7 separate regions of the Homo sapiens genome follow, and regions 1, 2, 3, 5, 6 and 7 are each linked to region 4. The links are contacts of gene promoters, found by promoter capture Hi-C in blood cells and fetal thymus (Javierre and others, 2016). All regions are on one chromosome and are shown on one strand. The core of a region is centred on a gene start or on the middle of the fragment in contact, and the rest is flanking DNA. Distances in the headings are between cores, read along the strand shown. Region 1 overlaps CAP1 (cyclase associated actin cytoskeleton regulatory protein 1). Region 2 overlaps PPT1 (palmitoyl-protein thioesterase 1). Region 3 has its middle 2.1 kb from the start of PPT1. Region 4 holds the start of ZFP69B (ZFP69 zinc finger protein B). Region 5 has its middle 21 kb from the start of PPT1. Region 6 overlaps RLF (RLF zinc finger). Region 7 has its middle 22 kb from the start of RLF.

Evidence for each region. Contacts are between HindIII fragments. The CHiCAGO score rates a contact against its expected background, and 5 or more counts as called.
Region 1: a fragment that was not itself captured here is called in contact with the fragment with the promoter of ZFP69B in region 4 in 1 of 17 cell types (total CD4 T cells); the score reaches 6.2 in total CD4 T cells.
Region 2: a fragment that was not itself captured here is called in contact with the fragment with the promoter of ZFP69B in region 4 in 2 of 17 cell types (total B cells and total CD4 T cells); the score reaches 8.0 in total B cells.
Region 3: a contact is called between a fragment that was not itself captured here and the fragment with the promoter of ZFP69B in region 4, in 3 of 17 cell types (erythroblasts, naive B cells and naive CD8 T cells). The highest score is 7.3, in erythroblasts.
Region 5: a fragment that was not itself captured here is called in contact with the fragment with the promoter of ZFP69B in region 4 in 5 of 17 cell types (total CD4 T cells, neutrophils, naive CD8 T cells and 2 more); the score reaches 9.0 in total CD4 T cells.
Region 6: a contact is called between a fragment that was not itself captured here and the fragment with the promoter of ZFP69B in region 4, in 6 of 17 cell types (neutrophils, total B cells, naive B cells and 3 more). The highest score is 7.3, in neutrophils.
Region 7: a contact is called between a fragment that was not itself captured here and the fragment with the promoter of ZFP69B in region 4, in 12 of 17 cell types (total CD4 T cells, naive CD8 T cells, total B cells and 9 more). The highest score is 16.0, in total CD4 T cells.

Annotation. Positions count from the first base shown.
Region 1 is chr1:40,060,936-40,064,865 of GRCh38, forward strand. It overlaps CAP1 (cyclase associated actin cytoskeleton regulatory protein 1), which reads left to right. Exons shown (of 13, transcript NM_006367.4): 4 at 800-877; 5 at 3,292-3,435; 6 at 3,539-3,624. Among named protein-coding and RNA genes, the nearest start is that of CAP1, 22 kb to the left of the region's middle. The HindIII fragment of the contact is 3,835 bases long and covers 1-3,295 here.
Region 2 is chr1:40,077,518-40,080,296 of GRCh38, forward strand. It overlaps PPT1 (palmitoyl-protein thioesterase 1), which reads right to left. Exons shown (of 9, transcript NM_000310.4): 7 at 1,043-1,141. Among named protein-coding and RNA genes, the nearest start is that of PPT1, 18 kb to the right of the region's middle. RefSeq lists a silencer at 1,237-1,286. The HindIII fragment of the contact is 2,165 bases long and covers 413-2,577 here.
Region 3 is chr1:40,097,461-40,101,282 of GRCh38, forward strand. No RefSeq gene overlaps it. Among named protein-coding and RNA genes, the nearest start is that of PPT1, 2.1 kb to the left of the region's middle. The HindIII fragment of the contact is 1,194 bases long and covers 1,782-2,975 here.
Region 4 is chr1:40,448,465-40,452,247 of GRCh38, forward strand. ZFP69B (ZFP69 zinc finger protein B) reads left to right here and starts at 2,012. Exons shown (of 5, transcript NM_023070.3): 1 at 2,012-2,624. The coding sequence starts at 2,498. ZFP69B-DT (ZFP69B divergent transcript) reads right to left here and starts at 1,575. Exons shown (of 5, transcript NR_198977.1): 1 at 1,356-1,575. RefSeq lists a silencer at 1,631-1,890 and an enhancer at 2,106-3,305. The HindIII fragment of the contact is 15,908 bases long and covers 1-3,104 here.
Region 5 is chr1:40,116,789-40,120,484 of GRCh38, forward strand. No RefSeq gene overlaps it. Among named protein-coding and RNA genes, the nearest start is that of PPT1, 21 kb to the left of the region's middle. The HindIII fragment of the contact is 3,880 bases long and covers 266-3,696 here.
Region 6 is chr1:40,184,261-40,187,855 of GRCh38, forward strand. All of the region lies in intron 1 of RLF (RLF zinc finger), which reads left to right. Among named protein-coding and RNA genes, the nearest start is that of RLF, 25 kb to the left of the region's middle. RefSeq lists a silencer at 2,286-2,475. The HindIII fragment of the contact is 6,433 bases long and covers 1-3,595 here.
Region 7 is chr1:40,137,092-40,140,948 of GRCh38, forward strand. No RefSeq gene overlaps it. Among named protein-coding and RNA genes, the nearest start is that of RLF, 22 kb to the right of the region's middle. The HindIII fragment of the contact is 6,332 bases long and covers 1-3,857 here.

The DNA of each region.
Region 1 (3,930 bases), core at 128-2,627, 390 kb before region 4:
TGTAACATTTGAAAAAACTTTAAAACATTTATCATTTGTATTTTAAAAATGCAAATCCAGAAAAAATAGATTGCTTTCTTTGAATTTTTGTATTTTAATAGTGCTTACAGTCTCATGTTTCTTAAATTCTTTTGACTGCGAATGACCCTTAGAAAGAAAGAACATATTCGTAACTGAGATAAAAGTTTCACAAGATGATATTTATACTACTTCTGCTGTACTTTTTTTTTTTTTAACTTTTTATTTGGAAATAACTTGAAGTTGGTGCACTGCACTCATACTTTTGTTCCATTAAGCTCACTAAATTGATTTAATTATTTATTAATGGGTCATGGTATCTGGCATTTGAGAGATAGCTTTAATCTAAAGGAGTAAATACCTTGAGAATTTTCAGCAGAAATTTAGGCCTTTGCCTTTACTCCTGTCTCCAATTTTTGAGAAAAGAAAGGTGTTTTTTTGGTTGCTGTTTGTTTTATTTTGCTGATGTGAAATAGGAAGGATTTTTCAGTGCACGGTATCACAATGCATGTGTAAGATGCTAACATGACTTCATGTAAGCTAGGTGATTATCCAATTAACTTCACTTCCAACTCTGGATATATATCCCTGATGAGTTCCAATAGGAACAGTAGTGTATGTAATTCTGCTCTCAGTCCCTGGAATCTGGAATACATGAGGAGGATAACATGAAGTGCCTGGGTTGCTATCAGAGTACATGGAAGTAGAGGTTTCAGGTTATTCTTATCAAGACTTCTCTAGTTATAATGTGTCATCAATAGCTGATTCTTCTTTCTGGCAGGCGGAGATGGTCCACACAGGTTTGAAGTTGGAGCGAGCTCTGTTGGTTACAGCTTCTCAGTGTCAACAGCCAGCAGAAGTAAGTTCACTACTAGCTGGTTTCATTTTGGTTTGATGCTCAGGACGAGTTGAGAGATTTATGTCAAGCTATTATAACATTTTAAAATAGACCTACTAGGCTTTTGATAATATATGTTCATACCAAGTCCCAGAGGTAGAGCCATACTTCAAGTGCCTTAATGGGAAGGTACTATTGGGTACTTAATGGTCTCTACTGGCTTTTTCTCTGTCATTTTGCATAGGACTGTGGTTATCCCTGGGACTTTGCTTGCCTGCCTCTTTGCTGAGTCCACATTCATCATAGTGTCTCCAAAGCCCTTTAAAGATGATTCTCTTGCTTCACTGTGGATGGGCTTTAGTAGTGCTCCTGTGGAGATCTTAAAACTCCTACAGTATTGCTTCTCTCCTCATCCTTCACTGGTTGGGAGACTCTCTCTTTAATTTTACTCCCACCTCAAAATTTTATGGTGCAAGATGTGAAAAGTTGAATTAGAGAAAATTTAGATTTCTCTTGGAGTCAAAGAATATAGGTTTCCTTCTTTTGCATTTGGTTTTCCTAGTTACAGAGGAATAATAAAGCAAGTTGTCCTAAATGCTGTATTAAAACCCTTGACCCTCAGCATGCCTAGATAATATAAAAATAGTGCAAGATAATGTCAAATATATTAGATTCTGGTTAAGTGTGCTGGCTCATTCCTGTAATCCCAGCACTTTGGGAGGCTGAGGCAGGAGGATCACTTGAGGCCAGGAGTTTGAGACCAGCCTGGGCAACATAGCAAGACCTCGTCTCTATTAAAAATTAAAAAAATAAAATAAATAAAAATAGCCAGGCAAGGTGGTGCATGCGTATAGTCCCAGCTACTTGAGAGGCTGAAATGGGAGGAAGATTTGGGCCTGAAAGTTTGAGGATGCAGTGAGCCATGAACACACCACTGCACTCCAGCCTGGGCGACAGAGCAAGACCTTCTCTCAAAAAACATTGTGTGTGTGTGTGTGTGTGTGTGTATAGATGCCATCTAATTCTAATATGTAGAATTAGATTTTAATTCTTAATCTGTCCTGAATGGTTAAGATCTGAGAATTGAGATGTTCAGGAAATGGAGCTTTGGAGGAAGGGTGCAAACACAAACAAAATTCATCCATTTTGCCAAGGTGCCTACTTGAATGCTAAGCCCCTAATTGTTTTTTATTTTATTTATGTTTAAAAAAAAATTTTTTTTTTGAGACAGGGTGTTGTTTTGTCACCCAGACTGGAGGGTAGTGGTGCAATCACAGCTCACTGAAGCCTTGACCTCCCAGGTGTAATGATCCTCCCACCTCAGCCTCCTGAGTAGCCTTGACTACAGTGTGCACCACCATGCCTGGCTTGCTTATTTACTTACTTATTTATTTATTTATTTCTGAGATGGAGTTTCTCTCTGTCGCCCAGGCTGGAGTGCAGTGGCAGGATCTCGGCTCACTGAAACCTCCACCTCCCAGGCTCAAGTGATTCTCCCACCTCAGCCTCCTGAATAGCTGGGACTACAGGCATGCGCCACCATGCCCAGCTGATTTTTGTATTTTTATAGAGATGGGGTTTCCCCATGTTGCCCAGGCTGATCTTAAACTCCTGGACTCAAGCGATCTGCCCACCTTGGCCTCCCAAAGTGCTGGGATTACAGGCGTGAGCCACCATGCCTGGCCCTAATTCTTTTTATTATTTGTAGAGACAAAGTTGTGCTGTGTTGTTCAGTCTGTCTTGAACTCCTGGTCTCAAGCAGTTCTCCTGCCTTGGCCTCCCAAAGTGCTGGGATTACAGGCGTGGGTCACCATGCCCAGACTAAGCCCCCTAATTGCATTTGATTCATCAGTTCTTTACAGCAGCTACTATATGGCTGGCAATGCATTGGGGGCTTTCATGATGATAAAAGAGCTCGTCTTTGAAGAATTAATGAGAAAGTAAAACATATTCACATGGGTCCATTAATAGTTTGTATTGGTGAGTGATAAAATGCCAAGATTGGTTATGCTGACAACAAATGCTGTAGGAGGCTGGTGTGGCTGGGTTGGAGGGCCCTCATGAAGCATGAGGAAAATTTGGATTCATGGGAAAAAAAGAGAACATCATGAGTAAGGCACAGGAATGATGTCCTGAGTGTATGTCCTCTGAGTGGAACAAAAAAGAGACAGGTGGCTGAAATGGAGGTTCTGTGGTATAGCTGAAGTATGGGTCCTGATCATGAAGAACCATCAGGTGCAGCCTGAGGAGTTGGAACTCTACGAGGAGAGTGAGATGATGAGCAGTATTTTAGCCTTAGGAATCAGGACAGGACTCATGCAGTTTATTTGGGTGCTCACTAGAGTCCATAGAGAATTCTTGCCTTCAGGATCAGAAGGCATAGACACCTTTGTGGAAAGATGTTAACCTGAATCTTTTCTTGTATCTTTTCCTAGAATAAGCTTTCCGATTTGTTGGCACCCATCTCAGAGCAGATCAAAGAAGTGATAACCTTTCGGGAGAAGAACCGAGGCAGCAAGTTGTTTAATCACCTGTCAGCTGTCAGCGAAAGTATCCAGGCCCTGGGCTGGGTGGCTATGGTGAGCAGCGCAGATTCCAGGGCTGGGGGTGGGTATAGATTTTAAGAGGGAAGGCAATATAGTTGGAGAGGTCCTGAGTCACTGACAGCTTGTCTCTCTCTAGGCTCCCAAGCCTGGCCCTTATGTGAAAGAAATGAATGATGCCGCCATGTTTTATACAAACCGAGTCCTCAAAGAGTACAAAGATGTGTAAGTTCAGCCTTTTCTCTCTTTTTTTCTTTTCTGAGACAGTGTCTTGCGTTGTCACCCAGGCTGAAGTACAGTGGCACAATCACAGCTCATTGCAGCCTCAACCTCCCAGCTCAAACAATCCTCCCACCTCAGTCCTCCAAGTAGCTGGGACTTCAGGCACGCTCCACCATGCCTGGCTAATTTTCTAATTTTTTCGTAGAGATGAGGTCTCACTGTTTCCCAGGCTGGTCTCTAATGATTCTCCTGCCTTGGTCTCCCCAAAGTGCTGGGATTACAGGTGTGAGCCACTGTGCCCAGCCAAGT
Region 2 (2,779 bases), core at 245-2,744, 370 kb before region 4:
CAACCATTAAAAAATGTTAAAAACATTCTTTTATGTTAGTGTTTGGTGTTACTCGTGGGTAGCACCAAAACGGGTAGCAGGATGGACTGGGCCTGTGGGCCACAATCGGCCAATCCCTGGTGGTGTGACATAACGTGATGAGTGTTTTAACAGAGGCTGATGATTCTAAAAAAGCGATCACATTCTGCTTGGAATGGGGATGGCATCCTTGCCTTGACAGACGAATAGAAATTGTCAGGTGGAGAAGCCAAGGAAGGGCATTCTAGAGACAGAAATATATGAACCAAGGCATACGAGAGAAAAAGCACAAGTAGTACAATATGGCTTGATCAAGAGTGTATGAAGCGTGCAGACAAGGCAGATTAGGCTGGAAAATGGGGTGAAGCCAGATCAAGGCAGACCTTGGAGGCCAAGCTTAGGAATTTATATATTTTGGGCTAGTGATTCTGAACATTTTTTGGGTCTCTGATCTCTGGAAAATGGATTAAAATTATAGATCCTTCCCCAGAGAATGTAATTACATAATTTTGCATAGAATTTTGGGGTTGGGGGATTGATTACAATCTTCAGTGTCCCATTTATGGACCTCAGGTGAAGAACTGTTTTATACAAAAGTTGGTGGAAGGGACTGAAGGTTTTTTCCCCAGCAGGCAGCTGTATTTTTTCATTTCATTTCAATTTCATTTTATGTTCTTTTTGAGACAGAGTCTCGCTCTGTCACCCAGGCTGGGGTGCAGTGGCACGATCTTGGCTCACTGCAAGCTCTGCCTCCTGGGTTCAAGTAATTCTCCTGCCTCAGCTTCCCAAGCAGCTGGGATTACAGATGGCTGTCACCATACCCGGCTAATTTCTTTTTGTATTTTGAGTAGCGATGGGGTTTCACCAAGTTGGCCAGGCTGGTCTTGAACTCCTGACCTCAGGTGATCCACCCGCCTTGGCCTCCCAGAGTGCTGGGATTACAGGCATGAGCCACCGTGCCCGGCCAGCAGCCCTATTTTAATGCCATTTACTCTCCTGGCATGTGGCCTAAGTAGTGTCTCACCTCCGAATCTACAGGGTCCACAATGGAATCATTGAGGAATTTCACCATCACAAACTTCTTCAGGGCCATCAGGTTTTTCTTGTAGGACTCATTGATACCCTGAAAGAAAGGCCAGCAACACCTAAGGTCATTACCATCAGACACCAGCAGAGGGAGTAAAGCCTTCCTGTTTTCTGGTCTCCCTGACCCTGTGCCACTGTGTTTCTTCCCCATGGGTATGGGCTGTTTTCCAGCTTCCTGACCAGGATATACCTGTACAGCTTTTTTTTTTCTTTTTTTCTAAAAAACAAAATATTTTATTTTAGATTCAGGGGGGTACATGTGTAGTTTTGTTATAAGGGTATATTGTGTGATGCTGAGGTTTGGGGTTCTGTTGATCCTTTCACCCAGATAGTGAACACAGTGCCCAACAGGAAGTTTTTCAGCCCTAGCCTCTCCCTCCCAGCTTTTGGAGTCTCCAGTGTCTATTGTTCCCATCTTTATATTCACGTGTACCCAATGTTTAGCTCCCACTTATAAGTGAGAACATGTGATATTTGGTCTTCTGTTTCTGTGTTCATTTGCTTAGGATAACGGCCTCCAGCTGCATCCATGTTGCTGCAAAGAACAGGATTTCATTCTTTTTTATGACTGTGTAATATTCCATGGTGTATATGTACCACATTTTCTCTATCCAGTCTACCGCTGATGGGCACCTAGGTTGATTTCATGTCTTTGCTATGGTGAACAGTGCTGCAATAAACACGAGTGCAAGTGTCTTTTTGGCAGGACAATTTGTTTTCCTTTGGGTATATACCCAGTCACGGGATTGCTTACACAGCCTTTTCTTTTCCTTTTTTTTTTTTTTTTTTTTTTGAGATGGAGTCTCGCTCTGTCACCGAGGCCAGAGTGCAGTGGCACCATCTCAGCTCACTGTAACCTCTGCCTCCCAGGTTCAAGCGATTCTCCTGCCTCAGCCTCCAGAGTAGCTGGGATTACAGGTGATCGCCACCACATCCAGCTAATTTTGTATTTTTAGTAGAGACAGGGTTTCACTATGCTGGCCAGGCTGGTCTCGAACTCCTGACCTCAAGTGATCTGCCCACCTCGGCCTCCCAAAGTGCTGGGATTACAGGCGTGAGCCACCACGCCCGGCCTTCTATAGGCTTTTCTTACCATCCTATCTGACTGACATGCCACTGAGCATGGCATACAGGTACAACTATGAGTTTACACCACACTCCATAGGTGTCCATCACATAGGTGAGAGGCTTCTAGTCAGAGAAAGCCAAGACAAAATAAGAAACTGCAAATTCTGGGTCGTTCTGCTATATACTATTCTGTGTTGTTTTTTGTTTGGTTTGTTTTTCCCTTCAAACTGTTTCAAAACAAAAAACCAAAAGACTCTCCAGATGAGTCAAATATAAACTGAGCCATCTAGTTTACCAGAACCTACCAAACCATGTTTGTGTCTGGGACATACTCAGTGCCTACTGTATCTCTCTTTTAGGTAAATCTCTAGAGAAAAATCCACCCCCAGACTGATCCATCAGGAAAGCTTCCCTCATTAAGACAGCAGCTGTGAATTTCCACCTCGCCCAGTCAGCAACCTGCCGAGCTTATCCTGTGTGTTTCAACACTAGGAGAGGGAAAGAACTTAAGGGAAGAAAGGCAAATGAATTTCAACCTCCCTAAAGGGAACTGAATCTCAAAGGCCCTGCCTCCCAAAAAAAACAGAACTTCTCTTTCCTAGTGTCT
Region 3 (3,822 bases), core at 1,129-3,628, 350 kb before region 4:
ATCAAAATAATTGCTAACATATATTCAGTGCTGATCAGATGCTATCAGGCACTATTCTTACAACCTTTAACTAATTCACTCTTCATAACAATGCTGTATGCACTTCTCCCCCTGACAGGTGAGGACACTGAGGCACTGCGAATTGGCACTGAGTAAGGTGCCCAAGGTCACAGAGATAGCAAATTGGTGGTTCCAAAGTCGTTGCTCTTCACCACTGCCCTGTACTGCCTTTGCAAGAAACATGCACAGAGGAAGGAAGAAAGAAGGAGGGACGGTTTCCAGCCAGGACCAATCATGGCAGGGTGTGGGGTTTGTTCTGGATATTGAAGGAGAGGTAGGATTTCAACAAGCAAAGATGAAATTCAGAAGGACTGAGATGAGCTAAGGTAGAGAGGAGAAAGACAACTGTGTTTTCTAGAAATGTCGGGACTTCAAGACGGACGAAAGCATATGTTGGATGCATAAGAGTGAGGGGGAAACCCATGGCCACTAACTGGCCTAATCTCAGCTGGATTATTTCAAGGGTCTCTCATCAACCATTTCCTTTTCCATTCTCTCCTCTTTAATTCATTTTATGCTCTATTGCCACATTCATCCCTCAATCCACCTTCATAATATCAGTTCCCTGCTCAAGTTTTTTTTCAACAAAACATCAAAAAATAGTTTAAATAATTTATAAAGAAATTAGAGTGTATCCACTATACAATGGAATAATATGAGGCCAGTTTTATAAAAAATGAGTATAGGGCCGGGCGCGGTGGCTCACTCCTGTAATCCCAGCACTTTGGGAGGCTGAGGTGGGCAGATCATCTAAGGTAGCGAGTTCGAGACCAGCCTGACCAACATGGAGAAATCCCGTCTCTACTAAAATTACAAAATTAGCCGGGTGTGGTGGCGCATACTTGTAATCCCAGCTACTCAGGAGGCTGAGGCAGGAGAATCTCTTGAACCCGGGAGGCAGAGGTTGCGGTAAGCTGAGATCATACCATTGTACTCCAGCCTGGGCAACAAGAGCAAAACTCTGTCTCAAAAAATAAGAATAAAAAATAAATAAAAAGAGAGTACAGCCCAGGCAGCATAGCAAGACCCCATCTCTACAAAAAAAAAATTTTTTTTTAATTAGCCAGGGGTGGTGGTATGTGCCTGTAATCCTAGCTACTGGGGAGGCTAAGGTGGGAGGATCACTTGAGCCCAGGAGTTCAAGGCTGCATTGAGCTATGATCTCGCCATTGCACTGAGCTATGATCTCGCTGTTGCCCTGGGCAACAGTGAGACCCTGTCTCTCTCAAAAAAGAAAAATGAGGTAAATTTACATAAAGTGACATGAAAAATGCCCTTAATATGTTGTAAAAGAAAAGTCGATTACAAACCCACGGTCTGTAATCTCTTCTATTCCATGCCATTGGGACTAGAGGTAAGTTGTTAGTTGAAAAGTCGATTAAAATGCAGAATCCACTGGGCGCACTTTGGGAGGCTGAGGCAGGTGGATCACCTGAGGTTGGGAGTTTGAGACCAGCCTGGCCAACATGATGAAACCCCATCTCTACTAAAAATACAAAAAATTAGCCGGGCATGGTGGTGGGTGCCTGTAATCCCAGCTACTCAGGAGGCTGAGACAGGAGAATCACTTGAACCCAGGAGGCAGAGGGTGCAGTGAGCCAAGATTGAGCTACTGCACTCCAGCCTGGGCAACAAGAGTGAAACTCTGTCTCAAAGAAAAAAAAATGCAGAATCATAAAGCATTATACAGTACAGTATACAGTTTTGTTTTAAGAAAAATAAGCTTATTGTATAAGCATTTTATTTTAACTTAAGACTTACAAATTGAAGTAGTTTCAGGATTTTTCTGTGAATATAGCCCGCTCAATGAAGTTTCCTGCCTTTAATGAACTATTTATAATTTCTTTAAAGGTTTCTTTAAACTGGAGCAATAACTGAAAGACACTTGTGAAGCAATCTGAATGCAATTTTTTTTTTTTTTTGAGACAGGGTCTTGTTCTGTCCCCCAGACTGGAGTGCAGTGGCGTGATCTTGGCTCACTGTAACCTCCACCTCCCGGGTTCAAGCGATTCTCGTGCCTCTGCCTCCCGAGTAGCTGGGATTACAGACACACCACCAACATGCCCCGCTAATTTTTTGTGTTTTTTGTAGAGACAGGGTTTCGCCATGTTGCCCAGGCTGGTCTCGAACTCCTGAGCTCAGGCAATCCGCCCCCCTCAGCCTCCCAAAGTTCTAGGATCACAGCTGTGAGCCATTGTGCCAGACCAACATTCTTTTTGTTTTTTATTTTTGATTCAGGGTCACATATGCAAGTTTGCTATATAGGTAAGTTGTATGTCAAGGAGGTTGGGTGTACGTTTTATTTTGTCACTGCCATAATGAACATAGTACCCAATAGGTAACTTTTCATTTCCACCCTCATGTAGGCCCCAGTGTCTGTTGTTCCCTTCTTTGTGTCCATCTGTACTTAATGTTTAGCTCCCACTTATAAGTGAGAACATGTGGTATTTGGTTTTGTTTTCCTGCATTAGTTTGCTTAGGATAATGACCTAAGCAGTTCCATCTATGTTGCTGCAAAGGACATTATCTCATTCCTTTTTTGGCTGTGTAGTATGCTATGGTGTATACCTACCACATTTTCTTTATCCAGTCTACTGTTGATGGATACTTAGGTTAATTCCATGTCTTTGCTATTATGAATAGTGCTATGATGACTTTTTTTTTTTTTTTTTTTTTTTGCGACAGGGTCTTGCTCTATTCCCCAAGTTGGACTGCAGTGACACAATCATAGCTTACTGCAGCCTGGAACTCCTGGGCTCAAGGGATCCTCCCGCCTCAGCCTCTCAAAGTGCTGGGATTACAGGTGTGAGCCACAGTGTTTGGATGTGAAATTATTCTAGATGGAAGACTTTCCACTCTCAGATTTCCGACCCAGAGTTACTTTAACAATTTTTTTTAACAACTTGCCTTTAACAAGCTTTTCCAATGCATTCAACTTAGTTTTCACAGAAACATCTCTTTTCTCTTTATGCTCATATTTCATGTTTTCAAAAATTTAACTAAATTATGATAGCAAATATCACCGATATATTAATAAATAAATAAAATAAGCCCAAAGGCATTTAGTAAGCAAGTAGCTCAATTGACAGGAACAGAACTACCCAAGAGTTCTGAAAAGCAGCCTCTAGCCATGTGGGCATGCTGTGGGCATAGGTAAGTAGGTAAGTACATTTTAGAACTGGGAGAGTAAGTTAAACAGGGCATAAGAAAATAACTATGTATTTATGTACATACATATATGATGGTTGTACAACTCTATAAATTTACTAAAAATCATTGGTTTGTACACATAAAATGGGTGACTTTTATGGCATGTGGAATATATTTCAATAAAGCTGTTCTTTTTTTAAAGAAGACATCTGTGTATTTATATATTTGTACATTATCACTGAAAGGTCAAAGCATTGCCAAGAAAAAAGAGGCTGGGTGCGGTGGCTCACGCCTGTAATCCCAGCACTTTGGGAGGCTGAGGCGGGTGGATCACGAGGTCAGGAGATCGAGACCATCCTGGCTAACACGGTGAAACCCCGTCTCTACTAAAAAATACAAAAAATTAGCCGGGCGTGGTGGCAGGCACCTGTAGTCCCAGCTACTCGGGAGGCTGAGGCAGGAGAATGGTGTGAGCCCGGGAGGCGGAGCTTGCAGTGAGCCAAGATCGAGCCACTGCACTCCAGCCTGGGCGACAGAGCGAGACCCCATCTTAAAAAAAAAAAAAAGAAAGAAAGAAAAAAGAAAGAAAATAAATATTTAAAAAGATCTGGA
Region 4 (3,783 bases), core at 762-3,261:
TACTTAGATTCTACCATTAACATTTTATTGTATTTCATGCTGTATTTTTGTTGAGTAGCAGATAGGAACATAGACTGCCTGTGTTCACCACTTGTAAGCCACATGATCTTGGCAAGTTATTCAACTTCTCTAAATCTCAGTTTTCTTATCTGTAAAGTGGGAATAATAATAGTACTTACTTCCAGTGGTTTCTGTGATGACAAAATAAGTTAAAATATGAAAGGCACTTAGGACAGAGCCTCATATTCTGTAACTATTATATGCTAGTGTATTCATCAGCTTGGGCTGCTGTAACAAAATACCATTGACTGGGTGGCTTAAACCACGGATATCTGGCCGGGCGCAGTGGCTCATGCCTGTAATCCCAGCACTTTGGGAGGCCGAGGCGGGCAGACACCGAGGTCAGGAGTTTGAGACCAGCCTGGCCAACATAGTGGAACCCCGTCTGTACTAAAAATACAAAAAATTAGCTGGGCGTCGTGGCGGGCGCCTGTAATCCTAGCCACTTGGGAGGCTGAGGCAGGAGAATCGCTTTAAGCCAGGAGGCGAAGGTTGCAGTGAACCGAGGTCACGCCACTGCAGTCCAGCCCTGCGGACAGTGCGAGACTCCATCTCAAAAAAACAAACAAACAAACAAACAAAAAACCGGAAATTTATTTTCTCAGTGTGGAGACTAGAAGCCCCAAGTAAGGTCGAGTTGGGTTCGTTTCTGACTAGGACTATATTCTAACCTTAATTACTTCCATAAAGGCCTTATCTCTAAATACTCTCCAAATACAATGGAGGTTAGGGCTTCAAGATAAATTTTGGGGAATCCAAACATTCGGTTCATAACAGCTAGCAAGTACTATAATTGTATTCTATTTCCTCATTTGTTGTTTTTGTAAACTGTTGATGTAGAAATGTATTTGGAGTGATGTACTCAAATTTTGTTGGAGGGAGAAAACTCAGCAATAAAACAGCATTACAGTATAATCGCTTTTGTGGAAAATATATAACAATGCATGAAATACGTTGTGTGTGTGCAGGAAAGGTTGTACACCAACTGTTAGCAAGGTTACCGCTGCTTGCTGAAATTACAGGCAATAATTTTTTTGTTTTTGTGTATTTTCTGGCATTTCAGAAATACAAGGTAAGCAATAAACATGAGAACTTTTATTGAATACTAGAAGAGAAAACTGTTGTGGTATTCTTTTAACAATATACCGGAATCCATTCAACTGTCTGCTGAGAATAAATAACTGGCATGTACATAATATTTAGGGAAAGTGCTATGGATTATTTTACACCAGTGTCGTTTCACCAAAAAACGTGATGCCGATGGCTCCCTTTTGTCACGGGTTTCAAAGGCTCACCCTAACGTTCACGTGCATTTTCCCAGCGGAGGAAAGATGGTTGTTCTTCATCAGAGTCTGGGGCCCAAGAACGCAGGCTCCATCTCCTCCCGCAGGAGCCAGGCTGATGATGCTCGCAGGGATCGGATACTGGGAGCCCCTGAACGCAGCCAACCCGGCGCGCACCGGTGGGGGCGTCTGCGCTGGCGGAGCGGCTCCCCGGGAGGACGCTGGGAACCATGCTCTAGCCAGCCGCTGCGCAGGCGCACTGGGCCCCGACTGCCCGCCGCAGCGCTACGTGGGAGCTTGGCCGCGCAGTGCCGGAACCCGGCTGCAGCGGTGGGAAGGCGGGGGCGTGCCGGCCCAGCGGGGAGAGGGTGAGCGGGTGGCTGTCCCGGGCTTGGGGAGCTGGGCGAGCCGGGAAGCGCGAGTTCCGCCCGCGGCCACCCTGTCGCGCGCGGTGCTCTCCGCAGCCCCGGAGTCGTGCTCAGACAAAGGCTGGGAGGCTAGGGCCGGGGGCGTTTTGCTTTGTGGGGAGGACTTAGCCTCTCATTTGGGGAGGAGGAGGCGGGGTCTAGCGGTTTCGCGGTTTGCTACAGCCGACTAGTGAAAGAGCTGGGATTCCAAATCCCCGGCTACTTTACACATAATTACTGCCCCAAACAAAGAATTGGGTTGTATTCGTCTCTTTGTGCTTCCTGACATGTGCGCGGTGCTTTGAATTTTGTGGGCTGTGTCTGCCCACCGTCTCCGTGTATCTTTTGGAAACATTTTACAGTGATCCATATATGTTCTAGCGTTCTGCCCTATGACTGAGCCTCCTTAGTCCTTTGCTGATTCTAATGTCTTCTGCTCAGCATCTGCAGGGGCTGCTGAGAGTAAATACTTGGCGCCTCCAGCTGCTGGCCAAGGAGACAGATGGAGCTCAAGTTGGGAGATACGCCCTGAGAGCCGATGATAGACACAAGTCCAGATCTCGGATTTTGATACTGTATGTTCCCTGGGTTCCTGAGAGAGGACATTGAGGAGTAGGAGTCGGCGATTAAGGAGATCGGTACAATTGGGAAGCCTCCTGTCAGAGCTTCCAGCAATTTCCTCATCAGAGGTGGACAAGCCCTATGGGCTAAGACAGAGGGTCCTCAGAAAGGAGTGCGGACGCCGTCATGCTGCAGCAGCTCCTGATCACCCTGCCCACCGAGGCCAGCACCTGGGTGAAGTTGCGTCATCCAAAGGCGGCCACGGAGCGGGTGGCCCTGTGGGAGGATGTGACTAAGATGTTTAAAGCAGAAGGTAAGAATAAACTGATGGGTGGGAGGGAGGAAAAGCAGTCCCCTCTAGTGTGAGAAGGAATGAGTCACTTGAGTGGAAGCATCTCTTAGGGAGACGAGTGGGTGGAGGGTTTCCGGAGTTGTTGATTGTGGCTCCTAGTCTGGGGTTTTCCTAAGTAGTGGTGGTCTTTTCAGCCTAGGACCAGTATTTCAGTGTCATGGTTATGTATATTATTTATTTTCATCTTTCCCATGGCCATGTGGGGCAGGATGGACTTAACCTGATTTTTCTTATTCTAACAGTGGGGAAATGTAAATCAAATGGGAGGCCTGCCCAGGGTCACACAGGAACTTGGTGGCTAGGTCAGAAAGAGAAGCAGCAGGGGAAGTACCAGGTGAGCCTGGAGTAACTTGTGCTAGAAAGCAAGGAAGAGCTTAAAGACTATGGATATGTGTCAAAAGAGGCCAGGTTTAAGGGTCTCTCACTCGACAGATTTGGGAAAGCTTAAGTATCCAAACTGATGGTAACACCTTGAATAAGTAAAATTCCACATGATCACCTTGACACTTAAAATAGAGAAAGACGTGGGGGGGGGGGAATTCATTTGCAAACATTGGAGGTAATTAATACACTGATTCCTTACTTTGAAAAATAGGTTATTATGGGAATGAATGTGCATTTACCTTGCCTTTTAGATCCTCTTCAGTTGGTGAGGGAAAGCTTTTTACAGAAAATGCGTGCCAATAATGAAGGTAGAAAGAGGCCAGGTGTGGTGGCTCATGCCTGTAATCCCAGCAATTTGGGAAGCCAAGGTGGGCGGATTGCTTGAGACCAGGAGTTTGAGGTCAGCAGTTTGAGACCAGCCTGGCCAACATGATGAAACCCCATCTCTGCTAAAAATACAAAAATTAGCTGGGCGTGGTGGCACATGCCTGTAATCCCAGCTACTCGGGAGGTTGAGGCACGAGAATCGCTTGAACTAGGAAAGGGGAGGTTTCAGTGAGCTGAGATGGCGCCACTGCACTCCAGGCTGGGTGACAGAGCAAGACCTTGTCTCAAAAATAAATAAATAAATAAATAAATGTAGAAAGAATGATAGAATCTTTTACCGTAAATAAAATAATTGAAAGGTTAATGGGGAACAGATACTCACATGATATCAAAGTATTATCCCCTCAAA
Region 5 (3,696 bases), core at 956-3,455, 330 kb before region 4:
GAGGAATGTTATGAGGTATACAGATGAACAGCCAGATGGAAGAGATGCAAAGGGCAAGGCTGTGGGAAGGGGCTTGGAGCTTCCATGTCCTCTCTTAATGTGCCACCTTCCAGGCACTTATACATGTTAGCAATCCAGAAGCTCTTGGAACCTCGTAGTTCAGGGATTTTTCATGGAGGCTTCATCACGTAGGCATGATCAACTATTGACTTAATCTCCACACCTCTCCTCTTCTAGAAGTATGCTGATGGGACTGAAAGTTCAAAGCTTCTAATCTTATCTTGATCTTTCTGGTGACCAGTACTCACCCAGAAGTCTATCAAGAGTCACCTCATTAGAACAAAAAATGCTCCTATCCCTAGGGAATTCCAAGTAATTTAGGAACTCTGTGTCAGACACTCCTATCACTCTGAAAATTACAAAAGTCTAAGGAGATTTGTGTTAGGAACTGGGTCAAAGATCGAATACTAGAAGAAAAGATTCTCCTAGCACCCCTATCAGCAAGGGTATTAGGAACTCTGTCTCATGAACTGGGGCAGAGACATATTTCTTATTTCTTAATGGTTTTTATTTATTATTATTTCACAGATGGCTACTATTAAAACAACACAGAAAATAAGTGTTGGTGAGGATGTGGATAAACGGTAACCCTCGTACATTGTTGGTGAGGATGTAAAATGGTATAGCTGCTGGATAAAACAGTATGGTGGTTCCTCAGAAAATTAAAAATAGAATTACTATATGATCCGCATTTCCATTTCTGGATATATACTCAAACAATTGAAAGCAGGGTCTTGAAGAAATGTTTGAACACCCATGTTCACAGCAGTATTATTCACAATAGCCAAAATGTGGAAACAACCTAAGTGTTCATCGAAGAATGAATAGGTTAACAAATGTGGTCTATGCATACAATGAAATATTATTCTGTCTTCTTGCTCTACTTGTTTCTCCTGTTCCTAACCTCTAAAGGTAGAGTGTCACCCCTTAGTCCTGCGGTCTCTTCTCTGTTTATACTTACTCCCTAGATAATGTCCTCTGGCGCCATGACTTTAAAAACAATAGCGGTGGCTCACACCTGTAATTTCAGCACTTTGGGAGGCTGAGGCAGGCAGATCACCTGAGGTCAGGAGTTCGAGACCAGCCTGGCCAACATGGTGAAACTCCATCTATACTAAAAATACAAAAATTAGCCAGGCGTGGAGGCAGGCGCCTGTAATCCCAGCTACTCGAGAGGCTGAGGCAGGAGAATCGCATGAACCCAGGAGGTGGAGGTTGCAGTGAGCCAAGATCATGCCACTGCACTCCAGCCTGGGTGACAGAGTGAGACTCCTTCTAAAAAAAAAGAAGAAGAAAACCAAATATCTTTATGATGATCTCCAAGGCCCTTAAGTCCTTAACTACATCCACACCCCCAGCCTTATGTCTCTGGTTGCATCCCTCACCTGGCCACCCCTCATTCACTGAGCTCTAGCACACTGGCCTCCTGCTTCTATGAGGCCACCAGGTCGACTCCCACCTCAAGACATCTGCTGTTCCTTCTGCCTGAACTGCTCTTCCTCCAAGTATTTGCGTGTTTTTCACCCTCACTTCATTCTGATATCTGTTCGAAGGTCACCTCCTTAGAGCTTTCCCCAAGCAATATATAGTCATCCCTCAGTATCCGTGGGGAATTGGTTCTAGGATCTCCTCTGATACCAAAGTCCAAGGAGCTGAAGTCACTCACATAAAATGGCATAGTATTTGCATGTAACCTATACACATCCTCCCATATGCTTTAAATCATTTCTAGATTTCTTATAATACCTAATATAATGGAAATGCTGTGTAAATAGTTGTTATACTATATTGCTTGGGGAGTAATGACAAGAAAAAAAAGTCCATACATATTCAGTACAGACAAAACCACGCTCTTTTTTTCCCCAAATATTTTCCATACCCGGTTGGTTGAATCTGCTGATAGAGAACCTGCAGATATGGAGGGCCAGTTGTATATGCTCCTATCACTCTTGATCCTCTTTACCATTTCGTTTTCCACCTAACATTATATTATATATCCATTTGTTTATGACCTGCTTTGTAAGTGACATAAAGAACTTGTCTTATTTAATACTATATTCCTGACAACTAAAACAATTCAGAGCAGAAGCACACAACCAAGAGTTGTTGAGAGAATAAATGATCGAATGGATGGGTCTTAGATAAAGGTAGAAGATGGCTCTGCTTTTGAACACTCCAGGATGAGGGGATGTTACTCTCTCATTGCCCACCTATAGTTTCTCCTACGCTTAGTGCTGGCCTAAACCATGCTGTGTCCCTTTAATATTCAAAAGGTTCGTGCTTAGGGTGGGACCAACAAAATGGGTATAACCATGTATTGACTACTCCTTTAGGAGCTAGCACAGAGGAGCTCTCTGTCGCCCTGTGAAAGCACTGACTTGCCTGAGTGAGTCTATTGCCTCATCTGATAGTGGGATTGTGGGTGCTGCTGGCTGATACCCCAATTCTTCCTATTTGTCTTTGGCAAGCCCAACTTTTCTGACACCATCTTCTGCTCAATTCCAAAACCATTGTCAGGCTCTTCAACTCTGCTGTGCCCCAGGGTCTCAGGTGCCTGAATATCTAATTCATGGCCTCAAAAAACCTAACGAAAAGTATAAACTTATCTGCAGACCTCAAGGCAGCATCTGGTTAACCACCCTCTGAAAACAGAAAGAGGATGATTCCAAACCCCACACTGTGGCCTTGGAAGCCCTACAGAGTCTGTTCCTACCTATCTCTCCAAACTCATCTCAGGCCCCTCTCCTCTTTGCTTACAAAATTCTAGCCAAAATGATCTTCTTTCTGTTTCTGAAATACCCCAGGCTTATTCCCATTTCATGGTGATGCAAGGCAGACAAGCCCCAAAATTGGGGCTTAGCCCAGGAGGGTTTTGTCTTTGCCAGGAAATAATTCAAGGGCGAGCTAGTGGTGTTAGCAACTTTTATTGAAGTGGCCGTGTACAGCTGCAGCAGCAGCAGTAGTATTGCTCCTTGAGGAGCAGGGCTACGCCATAGGCAGTGTGCCCACAGTAGCAGCTCAGTGGCAGTTCTGGAGTAGTCGTTATACTGACTTTTAATTATATGTAAATTAAGGGGAATATTATGCAGAATTTTCTAGAAAAAATGTCGTCAGGTCATTGCCATGGAAAGGGTGGTAACTGGCCAGGCATGGTGGCTCACACCTGTAATCCCAGCACTTTGGGAGGCTGAGGCAGGCAGATCACAAGGTCAGGAGTTCAAGACCAGCCTGCCCAATATGGTGAAACCCCGTCTCTACTAAAAATACAAAAATTAGCCAGGCATGGTGGCACATGCCTGTAGTCTCAGCTACTCAGGACGGTGAGGCAGGAGAATCATTTGAACCCGGGAAGAGGAGGTTACAGTGAGCCAAGATTGTGCCACTGCACTCCAGCCGGGGTGACAGAGCGAGACTCCATCTCAAAAAAAAAAAAGGAAAGAAAAAAGAAAGAAAAGAAAGAGCAGTAACTTCGGGCGTTGCCATGGAAATGGTAAACTGACATGGCACACTAGTGGGAGTGTCTTACAGAGAGGTGCTTTGGACTTTTCCCTGTTTTAGCTATTTCTCTATCTGGTCCGAGGTTCAAGCCCTGCCTCTGGAGATGAGTTTCACATCCTACCTCAATGGCATTTACAG
Region 6 (3,595 bases), core at 177-2,676, 260 kb before region 4:
TCAATGTACAGACATACGTGATTATAACACATATACAGAACTAGAGGTTATTTAGCCTAGAGAAGTGAACCAATGTAGCAGTCTAGATGAGGGATATTGGGGGCCTGGTTTAGGTGAATGGCTACAGAGATAAAGCATAGGGACAGGAGACAAAGATATTTCTGAGATAGAATCAACAAACTTTGGTGTGGTGGTTTCAAAGATAGTTTTTTAGCTCTGGCTCCTGAAAGGAGGCAGATGGAACATAGGAGGAAGAGCATATTTGCTGGGGAAGATGTTTGGTTTTGGACATGCTGAGTTTGAGATTTGAATAGGACATCCAGATGGAAATATGTAATAGGCAGTTGAGGTATATAGCAAGGACTTGAGAGAGTAATTTGAGGGTAATCTGCTTGGGATGTGAATGAGAGCACCGAATAGTCAAATATGGTGCGTAAGTGAGCTAATTTTTTACTTATATATCTGACCCCTTAGTATATATCATAGCCTTTCAAGGGCAGGAATAGAGTCTCCATCCTTACTTCCCAGCACAGTACAAAATAGTAGGTATTTGTGGAATGAGTTTACTGAAACAAAAGAGAGAGGTCATTAATTTGGTCACTGTAGAATGAACTTTAGGAGGTCATCTTTATCATTTATTGCCCCTTTTCTCTTCAGTTGTGATTTCAGTTCCTAAAGAAAAATAAGAGACCGTGGCTGGGTACAGTGGCTCACACCTGTAATCCCAGCACTTTGAGAGGCCAAGGTGGGAGGACCACTTGAGGCCCAGGAATTTGAGACCAGACTGGGCAGCAAAGAGACCCTGTCCCTACAAAAAAAAAGTTTTTTTTAATTGGCTGGGCATGGTGATGCACTTCTCCAGTCCTAGCTACTCAGGAGGCTGAGGTGGGTGGGAGAGAGGATCACTTGAGCCTAGGAGTTTGAGGTTATAGTGAGCTGTGATTGAACCACTGAACTCTAGCCGGGTTCAAGCAATTCTCCAGCCTCAGCCTCCCAAGTAGCTGGGACTAGAGGCATGCGCCACCACGCCCGGCTACTTTCTGTATTTTTAGTAGAGACAGGGTTTCACCATGTTGGCCAGGCTGGTCTGAACTCCTGACCTCAAGTGATACACCTGCCTCGGCCTCCCAAAGTGCTGGGATTACAGGCGTGAGCCACCTTGCCTAGTCCAGTTTTTTAAATGCAAGATTAGGTTGAAAGGATTACAGCCATCCTGTTATTTGGATGGCTGTAATCCTTTCAACCTAATCTTGCATTAAAAAAAAAAAAAAAAAAAAAAAAAAGCCGGGCGCAGTGGCTCCCAGCACTTTGGGAGGCCGAGGCGGGCAGGTCACGAGGTCAGGAGCTCGAGACCATCCTGGCTAACACGGTGAAACCCCGTCTCTACTAAAAATACAAAAAAAAAAAAAAAAAAAAAATTAGCCGGGCATGGTGGCGGGTGCCTGTAGTCCCAGCTACTTGGGAGGCTGAGGCAGGAGAATGGCGTGAACCTGGGAGGTGGAGCTTGCAGTGAGCCAAGATCGTGCCACTGCACTCTAGCCTGGGCTGACAGAGTGAGACTGTCTCAAAAAAAAAAAAAAAGCAAAAAAAAAAAAAAAAAAAAAACCACAAAGGCTGGATGCGAGGTGGCTTTTGCCTGTAATCCCAGCACTTGGGGAGGCCAAGGCAGGCGGATCACTTGAGGTCAAGAGTTCGAGACCAGCCTGGCCAAAATGGTGAAACCCCATCTCTACTAAAAACAGGAAAATTAACCGAGCCTGGTGGCGCACAGTTGTAATCCCAGCTACTCAGGAGCCTGAGGTGAAAGGATCCACTTGAATCTGGGAGGTGAAGGTTGCAGTGAGCCGAGATTTCACCACCGCACCCCAACCTGGGTGACAGAGTGAGACTTGATTAAAAAAACAAAAAGAAAGAAAGAAAATGCCTGGCTAGCCACAGTGGTTCATGCCTGTAGTCCCAGCTACTTGGGAGGCTGAAGTGGGAGGATCACCAGCAGTGATAGAATGAGACTCTATCTCAATTTAAAAAAAAAGTGATAATGAAGAAGATTGATTATTCCAGCCATTCTTCACATACCCAGAGTATGCTTATAGTGGGTATAAGAGATCTCACTACTTAATTTGAACCAACACATGAGGGGGTAAAGATTTAGGAATATAAAAAGTATAAATTAGTATAGAGCAAACTGGAAGTTCCTCAAGAGTATTGAATCTTTGAAATTGTGTAGCTTACAGAAGTCCTGGTGGAATGTCTGTCAGAAGCTATTAGATTGGTGGCAAGAGCGTTCTAAGTGGACAGGTGGATTGTGGAAAGACTAACCCCATCTGTATGCACTCTGTCCTTCTCTTTGCATACTTTAGTTAGCAGTTGGTTAATTTGCATGTGTGGTTTCAGCCATCATGTTGTATTGACTCATTCTGAAAGCTCTGTGAGGATAGGCCACATGTCTGCCCGCCCCCACTGCATCTAGCACTTTATGTGTGATAATCTATTGAAAAATATTTGTCAAATGAATAAAATGGTGAATGTATTCAGCAGACATTTAGTGAGACTTGAGAATGTCCTGTGGGGGTGGAAGTGGGTAGAGGAGTGGTAGGCCTATAAGGATTGATGAGACATAATGTCTGACTTTAAGGAACATAAATCTGGCACTAAATATAAATTTTTGAAACTCCTTAATTCTTAGATTAGCCAATGCAGACAGTAAGTAACTTACTGACCTAAACCAGAATTTTTTTGTAACATAGATTTTAATAAATTTCTTTGTTTTTTGTTTTTTGGTTTTTTTTTTTGAGACAGTCTTGCTGTGTCGCCAGGCTGGAGTGCAGTGGCGCAATCTTGGCTCACTGCAACCTCCGCCTCCCAGGTTCAAGCGATTTTCCTGCCTCAGCCTCCTGAGCAGCTGGGACTACAAGCGCGCGCCACCACGCCCATCTCTAATATTTGTATTTTTAGAGACGGGGTTTCACCCATGTTGGCCAGGATGGTCTCGATCTCTTGACTTTGTGATCCGTCCGCCTCGGCCTCCCAAAGTGCTGGGATTACAGGCGTGAGCCACAGCACCTGGCTGATTTTAATAAATTAGGTGAAATCTTAGTTATGTAACAGACACCCATTCTGCATTCTTTCTCTACTAATTCAGCTGGGAAGCAGGATTGCTTAGGGGTCAGTTTTATAATGTTACTCAGTTTTTTTATTTTATTAAAATTAGGGATTTGATTAAGTGGTGACATGTTGCTTTTCTGAAATTACAGAAGGGCATTTATCTAAAGTGACTGTGACCAAGTAGCAAGATACTTAATTGAGTAGGTCGGTATACTAAAAATAGCTCAACTGACTGTAATGATTCAGGTATGCAAAGATCAGATAATGCAATATATTAGTTAAGGGAACTTTTACTGTATATGGTATAATGGTCTATGGTATATTTCCTTGTAAGTTGTTTCTCTCTCTCTCTTTTTTTAAATGTTAAAGTAATCAAGATGATGCTAACAGTCAGTTACCAGAACTCATACAGGGACCATTTGTGTGGAAACTAAAGCTGCAGAAAATCCAGCAGAATCCTGCGCTACTATTGTAGTTATTTGTAGTTGTT
Region 7 (3,857 bases), core at 808-3,307, 310 kb before region 4:
AAACCCTACCTTATACCATATACAGTAATTAATTCGAAGACCTAAAATAATTAGATCAAAGACCTCAAATAAGAGCTAAAACTATAAAACTTTTAAAAGAAAACATAACGTTGTTTATAACGATTGTTCATAACGTTGGATTTAGCAGTGATTTCTTGAATATGACACCAAAAGCACAGGCAACAAAAGTGAAAATAGATAAAACTATGCTCTAGGCTGGGCGCTGTGGCTCACGCCTGTAATCCCAGCAATTTGGGAGGCCGAGGCGGGCGGATCACCTGAGGTTGGGAGTTCAAGACCAGCCTGACCAACATAGAGAAACCCTGTCTCTGCTAAAAATACAAAATTTAGCCAGGTGTGGTGGTGGGCGCCTGTAATCCCAGTTACTCAGGAGGCTGAGATGGGAGAATCGCTTGAGCCTGGGAGGCGGAGGTTGCAGTGAGCTGAGATCGTGCCATTGCACTCCAGCCCGGGCAACAAGAGTGAAACTGTCTCAAAAAACAAACAAACAATGCTCTAAAGGACACAATCAGGGTAAAAAGGCAACCCACAGAATGAGAGAAAATAATTGCACTCCTATATCTGATAAGGGGTTAATATCCAGAATATACAGAGAGTTCTCACAGCAAAACAAACAACCCAATTAAAAATTGGGCAAATAAGCTGGGCACAGTGGCTCACGCCTGTAATTCCAGCACTTTGGGAGGTTGAGGCAGGAGGATCATGAGGTCAGGAGATCGAGACCATCCTGGCTAGCACAGTGAAACTTTGTCTCTACTAAAAATGCAAAAAAATTAACCAGGCATGGTGACGTGCACCTGTAATCCCAGCTACATGGGAGGCTGAGGCAGGAGAATTGCTTGAACTGGGAGGTGGAGGTTGCAGTGAGCTGAGATCACACCACTGCACTCCAGCCTGGGCAACAGAGCAAGACTCCGTCGCAAAAAAAAAAAACAAAAAAAACAAAAAGGGCAAAGAGCTTGAATAGTTATTTCTCCAAAGAAGATATGCACATGGCCAAAAAGCACATGCAAAGATGTTTGACATCACTAATCATTAGGGAAACGCAAATCAAAACAACGAGCTACAATCTCATACGCATTAGGATGGCCACTATCAAAAATATGAAGAAAATAACAAGTTTTGGTGAGGATGTGGAGAAATCAGAATCCTTGTGTACTGTTGATGGGAATGAAAAATGGTGCAGCTGTTGGCTGGGCGCGGTGGCTCACACCTGTAATTCCGGCACTTTGGGAGGCCAAGGCGGGTGGATCACCTGAGGTCAGGAGTTTGAAACCAGCCTGGTCAACATGGTGAAACCCCATCTCTACTAAAAATACAAAAATTAGCTGGTCGTGGTGGCGGGTGCCTGTAATCCCAGCTACTCGGGAGGCTGAGGCAGGAGAATCACTTGAACCCGGGAGGCGGAGGTTGCAGTGAGCCAGCATCACGCCATTGTACTCCAGCCTGGGCAACAAGAGCAAAACTCTGTCTCAAAAAAAAAAAAAAAAAAAAAGAAAGAAAAGAAAAGAAAAGAGAGAAAAATGGTGCAGCTGCTATGGAAAACAGTATGGCAGTTCCTCAAAAAATTAAACATAAAATTTTCATATGATCCAGCACTGATACTTCTGGGTATATATCCAAAAGAATTGAAGGCAAGGTCTTGAAGAGTTATTTGTACACCCATGTTCAGAGCAGCATTATTCACAATAGCTGAAACATGGAAGCAACCCAAATGTCCATCAACAGATGAATGGATAAGCAAAATAGGATATATCCATACAATGGAATATTATTCCACCTTAAAAAGGAAGGAAATCCTGACATATGCTATACCATGGATGTAGCACCTTGACAACATTACGCTAAGCCAGTCACAAAAAGACAAATACTGTATGATTCCACCTATATCAGGTACTTAGTAGTCAAATTTATAGACAGAAAGTTGAATAGTGGTTGTTAGGGGCTGGGGAGAAGGGAAATGGGGAGTTGTTTAATGGGTATAGAGTTTTAGATTGCAAGATAAGAGTTTTGGAGATTGGTTGCACAACAATGCAGATGTACTTAACACTATTGAACTATATGCTTAAAAACGGACAGGTTGGTAAATTTTATTTTATGTATATTTTGCCACAATTAAAAAATGGTTTTGAATAATTTCACACTTAGAAAAGATTTGCAAGATTAGTACAGAGAATCCTGAAGAATCTCCACCAGAGGCATTTTATCATATTTGCCTCCTTATCTCTTTATTTCTCTCTCTCTCTTTCCATATATATATACACACACACACACACACACACACACACACACACACACACATAAATATACACGAATTTACACCTAGTAGTTTTAGCATCCATTAATGATTCTTGCCTGGATTATTACTATAATGGCCACCAAATAGAGATTTTCCTATGTCCATTGTTTCTTCTACATTTATTACTTGAATTCTATAGTAAAGTATCATTTCCTTTCCCGTATCCTCTTTTTTTTTTTTTTTTTTTTTTGAGACCAAGTCTTGCTCTGTTGCCCAGGCTGCAGTGTAGTGGCGAGATCTTGGCTCACTACAACCTCCGCCATCCAGATTCAAAAGATTCTCATGCCTCAGTCTCCTGAGTAGCTGCGACTACAGGTGCACGCTGCCACACCCAGCTAATTTTTGTAATTTTAGTAGAAATGGGATTTCACCATGCTGGCCAGGCTGGTCTCAAACTCCTGACCTTAAGTGATCTGCCTGCCTCAGCCTCCCAAAGTGCTGTGATTACAGGCATGAGCCACTGGACCTGGTCTCCTGTATCCTTTTTAATTAATTTTTTATTTATATTAGTGTGGGCTTAAGGATTCCCAATTTATTCAATAAGTTATAATTCCTTACAATCATAATTTACTTTGATGACTAGATTGTCCCTGATTTGGCCAGTGGGAGCCTCTTTACACTGGCTCCTGTGTTCTTTTGACATTTCTCATCTGTATTAGTTTGCTATGCCTGCTGTAACAGTGTACCACAAACTCGGTGGCTTAAAACAGCTGCAGTTCTCATGGTTCTGAAGTCCAGACATTCAAAATCAACTTCACTGGGCCCAAATCAGGAATATTAACACGGCCATGCTTCCTCTGGGCTCTAGGGGAGAATTCGTTCCTTGCCTCTCCCAGCTTCCAGCTGGCACTTGGCTTGTGGCTGCACCACTCCAGTCTCTGCCTCCTGCCTTCTCCTTTTGCGTAATCTCTCTCTGCCTCTCTCTTACAAGGATACTTGTGTTTGCATTTAAAGTCCACTTGAATAATCCAAGACAATCTCCCCATCTCAAGTTCCTTGATCATATCTCTAAAGATCCTTTTTCTGTATATGATAATATTTACAGATTCCAGAGATTAGAGCTTCAGGGGCCATTACTTAGCTTACTACATCCTCATTCTTTGAATACTTCCTTTCTTCCTGAACCAGTAAGATTTTTCACTGCCCTAGTCATGAAATCAGCCATTTCTCTAAGAACTTTTGGTTTCTTTTTAGTGAAGAATGATACTTGGAAGTCAAGATGTAGATGCTAGGTGCACTCATTGCTATGGGTGTGTCGGTCTTGCAAGTCCTTTCAGTAGGACAAGGAAACAAGATATCAACTAGGAAAAATATGTCTGGACACACACACACACAATCATACGTATGATGTACATTCCGAAGTACTGTAGTGGAGTTGGCTCATATGGACTTGCAAAAGCTGCTTGTTAAATATTCAGGAACTTTGCGGGTGGCTGTGAAACTAGTATTATTTCATGCTGGGAGTATTTACACCGTGGAAATCAGCAAATGCTACAAATTAGTGTGTTTTGAAAAACCAAAAAGCCACTATACATAT